Regions from separate parts of the Homo sapiens genome. Here region 2 is linked to region 1. The links are contacts of gene promoters, found by promoter capture Hi-C in blood cells and fetal thymus (Javierre and others, 2016). All regions are on one chromosome and are shown on one strand. Each heading gives the region's core, a stretch centred on a gene start or on the middle of the fragment in contact. The rest is flanking DNA. Distances are from core to core; before and after follow the strand shown.

Region 1 (3,674 bases), core at 333-2,832:
GCCTCAGCCTCCCGAGTAGCTGGGACTACAGGCGCCCGCCACCACGCCCGGCTAATTTTTTGTATTTTTAGTAGAGACAGGGTTTCACCGTGTTAGCCAGGATAGTCCTGATCTCCTGACCTCGTGATCTGCCCGCCTCGGCCTCCCAAAGTGCTGGGATTACAGGCGTGAGCCACCTCGCCCAGCCCGGGAACTGTTTTGGATACTAATCAAAACAATGGTTATGGCTGGGCGCGGTGGCTCACGCCTGTAATCCCAGCACTTTGGAAGGCCAAGGCGGGCGGATCACTTGAGGCCAGGAGTTCGAGATCAGCCTGGCCAACACAGTGAAACCCCGCCTCTACTAAAAATACAAACATTAGCCAGGCATGGTGGCGGACGCTTATAGTGCCAGCTACTTTGGGAGGCTGAAGCACGAGAATCACTTAAACCTGAGAGGCAGAGGTTGCAGTGAGCCTAGATCGTGCCACTGCACTCCAGGCTGGGTGACAGAGTGAGACCCTGTCTCAAAAAACAACAACAATAAACAATGGTTATATATATGGGGAATATCATTTAGTCTGTGGCTTGTCTTTGTGTGCTTTTTCAACTTGTTATACGGAAGTAACACATTTTAATACAGTCAAATCTAAATATTTTCCCTTATGGTTTGTGCTTTTCCGGTCTTATTAAGAAATTCTTAGCCGGGCGCGGTGGCTCACGCCTCTAATCCCAGCACTTTGGGAGGCTGAGGCGGGCGGATCACCTGAGGTCAGGAGTTCGAGACCAGCCTGACCAACATGGAGAAACCCCATCTCTACTAAAAATACAAAATTAGCCAGGTATGGTGGCGCATGCATGTAATCCCAGCTGCTCCGGAAGCTGAGGCAGGAGAATGTTTGAACCAAGGAGGCGGAGGTTGCGGTGAGCTGAGATAGCACTGTTGCACTCCAGCCTGGGCAACAAGGGTGAGACTCCGTCTAAAAAAAAAAAAAAAAATTCTTCCCTATTTTTGACATTATAAAGCTATTTTTATTTTCTGAAAAATGTTTGCAGGTCTTTAATCCATCTCGGCCTTATTTTTGGAAATGGTTTGAGGTAGAAATCTAATCATTTATTTCCCTTTTGGAAAAAATGTCTCATCGCCATTTATTGAAGAGTCTGTCCTTTCGCCCACTGACTTGTAATGCCGTCTGTATCATAAACCAAGTTCCCTTGATGTTACTCTTCATTTCGGCCTCACAATCTTTGCTTATTTTCCTTCTACCAGGGATGCTTTTCGCTATGTTCCTTTCAGGGCTACCTTCCTCTTGTCCCTTCAGATCGCAGTTCAAATGTCATCCCCCTCAAATCTAGATTGCTCTACAGGCATTTCTGGCTCCGTGATCCCATGACCTCAAAGGGGTCTAGGTGGGCATAGCCTCTAGCCAGTTGTTGCTAGGCTGTTGTCAGGACTGGCGATGCGTAGGCCACTGAGAGCACCCGGAGTCCGAGTGACGGAATCAGGCGGGCGCCCGCGTCGCTAAGGAGTGCGTCACAGTGCGCGGGCGGCCGGGGGCAGGGCCAGGGCTGAGTCACGTGGCTTGGTTGCCTACGCGCTGGTGGGCCGTGGGAAGATGGCGGACGGAAAGGGAGACGCCGCCGCTGTCGCCGGGGCTGGGGCTGAGGCTCCGGCGGTAGCGGGAGCCGGAGATGGAGTCGAGACTGAGTCCATGGTTCGGGGTCATCGCCCCGTATCTCCAGCGCCGGGAGCCTCGGGACTGCGGCCGTGTCTGTGGCAGCTGGAGACAGAGCTGAGGGAGCAAGAGGTGTCGGAGGTCTCATCTTTGAACTACTGCCGGAGCTTCTGCCAGGTGAGGGGCTGACTGGCTGGCTGAGGGCGGCGGGGCGGGGAAGTCAGGGAAGGAGGCCCTGGATCCTCTGTAAGCAGCCGGGTCCAAACTGAAAGGCGCCACCTCCGTGACTCGCCGCGCCCCCGGGCCGGGAAGGCCCAGCTCGGAAGCTCGACCGCTGGCCCCCCTGCGCCACTGCCCGACTTTGGCCACCGCTGGGTCGTTTTGCTCTGAGCCTTACTGAGATCCCGGAGGGCCCTGGCGGGTCCCTGGAAGGGCTGTGCCCTGTCGCCGTTGCCTGTGTCCTGGCCGGGTGGTTGGAGCGCCACTGCCCCCTGAGGGATTGATTGCTTGTCCCTGCCGGGAGATCCTTTTTTGAGTGGAGTGCAGATCTCCGAACTGGTAAACCCGGGTTTTTCTGAATAATCCAGAGAGGTGTGTTGGGGCCAGAGACTTATTTTTGGAGTTAACATCTTCTGGGCTCCTAAAAGGTATGACAGTTGGCTTCGAAAGGCGTCTAGAGCTTTCTGATTAGGGATTGCGGAGCCGGTTGGTTGTTTGGTTTTTGCTTTTTTTTTTTTTACGTTTAAGCCGTTCTTTCGTCTTTTCTGTATTTCTTTGAGAGGATTGTGCTACCGAGAATAAGGCTGACTCTTTGAGTAGAAGAGGATGGGAAGAGGGATGTAGAGTGTGGCCTCTTTTGGCAGTCGTATGATCATTTCTGTGCCTTGGTGGGTCCTAACCTATGATTACATATTTATGGGTGTGTTTAGTTTAGTCTCCATGACCACTCCGAGATTTTTCTGTATGTTTTCAAGTCTTTTACAAATACAAATATTGGCCATTATTATTTCTGCTTCCAATGTTTGTTCTGTCAGGTTTCAGAGGCACCCATCAGCTCCTTATCTGTTGTACCTTAGAAAATGCAAAATAATCGTGGCATGTTGGTACTTGGAGTCTAATAAGTAGTCCAGTATGCTGAATAAATTGCGGCGTTCTAAAATAATAATTTTGGGGGGCAATTTGCTCTGTTGGTCCGGAGTAGAATAAAAGTTAGCTTGCTTGATTGCTTTTCTTCCCTCTCTCTGCCGAGGCAGAAGCACCTCATCTCTCTGAATGGAATTTTGTCCTTACTAATCTTTTCCGTGGATTGTACCACTCCAATTTTTGTGTGTACAACCTGCAACATTGCCCTGTACTATTAAATGTTAACGTGTTGTTGTTCTCTGCTTCCTTAGTAGTAGTCATCCCTGTTTAGTAAGCTCATTTATTTTACAGATTTTTACTGACTTCATAGGATAGTGCCAGGGACTTTACCAAGTGCTGGGGAAACATGAGTAAGACAGCACTTAGCCTTGATGAACTTACAGTTGGTGGGAGGTGGTAGGAATGACAGTATTTCCAGTGCGGTTTTGGTAATGATGGAAAAGGAGGTGTTGTAGAGACAATGGTGAGGAGAGAGCCTTCATGGGATATCCTGATGGGAAAGACAATTAACTAGAAAAATAAGTAAAAAGGTTAATTATAAATTGTAGTATGTGCTTAGAAAGAAGTAACTGGGAGAGGCCACTTTAGTTAGTAAGACCCTATGGGCTGCAAGGATGAAAATGAGTCACGTGAAGGTCTGGGGTGGGGAAAGCATCCCAGTGCCAAAGGTAGAGATTGGTAAGGACCCAGAATGCTATGGGAGGAGGGGAAACTAATGGAAGGAGAGGGGTGGTGCAGGAAAACAACTGTGGGTTTTGGGTAAGGCTTCTAAGCTTGAGTTGTCTCCCTGGAAAGATGACAAGAATGAATGTAACCAGTCACATTGAAGCTTGTCAAAGGATCACATATATATGTATTCTGCTTTATGTCTAGTGC
Region 2 (3,674 bases), core at 863-3,362, 520 kb after region 1:
TCACTCACATTCACTTTAAGGAAAAGCTGCCCAGACCACAAACCCTGCTGGGGCCACGCTTTAAACCACCTGGCCCCTCCAGCCTCTAGACTTGAGCAGATAGGGCCAGCACCGGAGTCAAGGGTCACCATTTAATATATTAGCTGCTGTCCTCTGACCAATGGTGTATACTATGGTGTGAATGTGTTCCCCAAGGTTCATGTGCTGGAAACTTAATCCCCAAGGCAACAGTGTTGAGAGGAGGGACCTTCAGGAGGTGATTAGGTCATGGGGACTCTGCCATCATAAATAAATTAATGACGATATTGAGGGAGTGGGTTCCTGATAAAAGGATGCATTCAACCCCATTTCTTCTTCTCTCTCTCTTTCTCTCTCCCCTTCTCTCTGTCCCTCTCATGCTGTCTTGCTCTCTTGCCCTTCACCTGCTGCCATGGAATACACAGCAAGAAGGCCCTTGCCAGGTGTGCACCCCTAAACCTTAGACTTACCAGGCTTTAGAGCTGTAAGAAATATATTTCTATACCTTATAAATTACCTAGTTTCAGATATTCTGATATAGCAGCACAAAATGAACTAAGACAACCTAGCACAACAATCTAAGATGGGCTGATTCGAGGCTTTATTGAACCAAGGAAGAGAAAGACATTGTTGTCCCAGGCATGGCGCCTCACACACAAAACCCCAGAACTTCGAGAGGTCAAGGTGGGAGGATCAGTTAAGCCCAGGAGCTCAAGACCAGCCTGGACAACAGTGAGACTTTGTCTCTACGAAAGGAAAAAAAATTTTTTTTAATTAGCCAAGCATGGTGGTGCATGCCTGTATTCTCAGCTACTTTGGAGGCTGAGGTGGGAGGATCATTTGAGCCTGGGAGGCAGAGGTGGCAGTGAGCCAAGATCGTGCCATGCCACTGCACTACAGCCTGGGTGATAGAGTGAGACCCTGTCTCAGGAAAAAAAAAAAAGGAAAGAAATTGTCAGGTGGCAGAAGGAGTTGAAGTAGAGAAGTCAGAGACAGCCAGGTATGGTGGCTCATGCCTGTAATTCCAACCGGTTGGGAGGCTGAGGCAAGTGGATCACTTGAGTCCAGGAATTCATGACCAGCCTAAGCAACATGGCAAAGCCCTGTCTCTACAAAAAATATAAAAATTAGGCTGGGTACGGTGGCTCATGCCTGTAATCCCAGCACTTTGGGAGGTTGAGACAGGAGGATCACCTAAGGTCAGGAGTTCGAGACCAGCCTGGCAAACATGGTGAAACCCTGTCTCTACTAAAAATACAAAAATTAGCCAGTCGTGGTGGTACACACCTGTAATCTCAGCTACTCAGGAGGCTGAGGCAGGAGAATCACTTGAACCTGGGAGGCGGAGGTTGCGGTGAGCTGAGATCGTGCCATTGCACTCCAGCCTGGGAAACAAGAGTGAAACTCCATCTCAAAAAAAAAAAAAAAAAAAATTAGCCAGGCATAGTGACACATGCCTGTAGTCCCAGCTACTTGGGAGGCTGAGGCAGGAAGATTGTTTGAGCCCAGGATGCAGAGGTTGCAGTGAGTGATGATCGTGGCACTGTACTCCAGCCTGGGTGACAGAGCAAGACCCTGTCAAAAAAAAAAAGTCATAGACAAGTAGGTCTTGGCCAGGAAAGCCATGTGCAGGCCCAGAGAAGTAGGATCAGAGACCAAGAGAAGGCAGAAGCCTGACTGTAGGTAGAGGGGGAAGGAGCAATCCTATCCAGTGATGAGGAGTGGTGAGAAGATAGAGAATAAATAGACCAGTGAGTCCTAGACCTCTATCCTTCATCCTGCCTTTCAGTTCCAGTCTTTACAAGAAACTCCTTTGTACTTGAGCTAAATTGGGTGGGCTTCTGCAGCCCAATGAGCCTGACTCTACTGTGTTATCTTGGCAAGTCCCTGCCCCTCTCTGAGCCTCGGTCTGACTAGATTGTCTCTAAAGTCCTCTCCAGGTCAGTGTTCTTTCTGAACACTGTGTAGAGGGGATGGTTTTTAGGTTGTTGGCACCTGAGTTCAGTATTAGTTACAGAGTGCCCCTGACATCCTGGCTCCCAAAATAGCGTGGTGGCTGGTTAAAGAGCCTGTTAGAGGATCCAACACCCACCTGGCTTTGAACCTGAGACCCGCTGATACAATTCGACTCCTCCTTCGATTGTATCTTTTGTTGGATCACAAAGGAACTGAGGAACCAGGGCTGGTGTTTCTCCAGTGTCTTTTGGCTCCTGAATGCCCTACGTACCCCCTTAATACTTTTCTGGACCCACTTCAGCATTTCAGAGGATTTCAGTGCCAAATCTGCTCTAAAAAAAAGTGCCACTCCAGGAAGAATTTGAACAAAAAAAGTTTCCTTCTTTGGTATTAAGATTTCCTGCCTTCCAGCTGTTTGGCTCTGAGCCTGTGCCCTGCCTTCATCCTCCTAAGCTAACAACTATGTTGATAATAATACTCCCTTGCTTTTGTATGGTGTTTTGCACTTTTCAGAGCATTTTAACACTTATCATCTTACTTGATGAAAAAAACTCAGGCAGGATGGACAAGAAGGAGAGGCAGAGGATAATACCTGGATAATATCTATCACTTCTCCCATTCCCTCTACCCCCTTAGGACAATTTATTTTCAAATAATGTAAAATAAATTATTCCTATGCCTTTTTTAAAAACAGGTGGAATTTTTTTTTTTTTTTGAGATAGAGTCTCTCTCTGTCACCCAGGCTGGAGTGCAGTGGTGCAATCTCAGCTCACTGCAACCTCTGCCTCCCAGGTTCAAGTGATTTTCCTGCCTCAACAACCTGAATAGCTGGGATCACAGGTGTGCACCACCATGCCCAGCTAATTTTTTAAAAATTATTTTTAGTAGAAATGGGGTTTCACCATGTTGGCCAGGCTGGTCTCGAACTCCTGACCTCAGGTGATCTGCCCGCCTCAGCCTCCCAGAGTGCTGGGATTACAGGTGTGAGCCACCGTGCCGGCCTAATATAAGGTGGAAATATTGAGATTGAACTTGATTAAGTGACTTGCCCAAGGTCACAAAGCAGGTTGATGGCTCAGTAGGATCTATAAGGCTTACAATCAAGGATCACACTTGGCCGGGTGCGGTGGCTCATGCCTGTAATCCCAGCACTTTGGGAGGCCAAGGCAGGCGGATCACGAGGTCAGGAGATCGAGACCATCCTGGCTAACACGGTGAAACCCCGTCTTCACTAAAAATACAAAAAATTAGCCAGGCATGGTGGCGGGCGCCCGTAGTCCCAGCTACTTGGGAGGCTGAGGCAGGAGAATGGCGTGAACCCAGGAGGCGGAGCTTGCAGTGAGCTGAGATCACACCACTGCACTCCAGCCTGGGTGACAGAGCGAGATTACATCTCAAAAAATAATAAATAAATAAATAATTAATTAAAAAAAAAGGATCACACTTAATGTTTATAGTCATTTTCTCAAGACCTGCCCAACCCTATTTTGCACACTGCTAGCCAAGGCAAGGGACCTTGAAGAAAAGTCGTGTTCTTGACATGTATGCCCCTTTGGTGCCTGCAGGGATCATTCATAATCTTAACCTGTACCCTCTACAGAGACTTAGCTGTCCCACAGTGGCTTGCGAAGCACCAGGAGGTCACAGAAGTAAGCTAGGTTGGATGTAATGTTTTCAATACTGTTCCTTGGGTAATGGCA

Evidence for each region. Contacts are between HindIII fragments. The CHiCAGO score rates a contact against its expected background, and 5 or more counts as called.
Region 2: a contact is called between a fragment that was not itself captured here and the fragment with the promoter of RLF in region 1, in 1 of 17 cell types (neutrophils). The highest score is 5.4, in neutrophils.

What each region holds. Positions count from the first base shown.
Region 1 is chr1:40,159,805-40,163,478 of GRCh38, forward strand. RLF (RLF zinc finger) reads left to right here and starts at 1,583. Exons shown (of 8, transcript NM_012421.4): 1 at 1,583-1,832. The coding sequence starts at 1,596. LOC105378671 (a long non-coding RNA gene) reads right to left here and starts at 1,474. Exons shown (of 3, transcript XR_947232.3): 1 at 1,161-1,474. RefSeq lists a silencer at 45-246 and enhancers at 1,255-1,871, 1,359-1,868, 1,872-2,487. The HindIII fragment of the contact is 5,693 bases long and covers 1-3,569 here.
Region 2 is chr1:40,674,328-40,678,001 of GRCh38, forward strand. It overlaps a transcript of RIMS3 not described here. Among named protein-coding and RNA genes, the nearest start is that of RIMS3, 10 kb to the left of the region's middle. The HindIII fragment of the contact is 4,589 bases long and covers 1-3,674 here.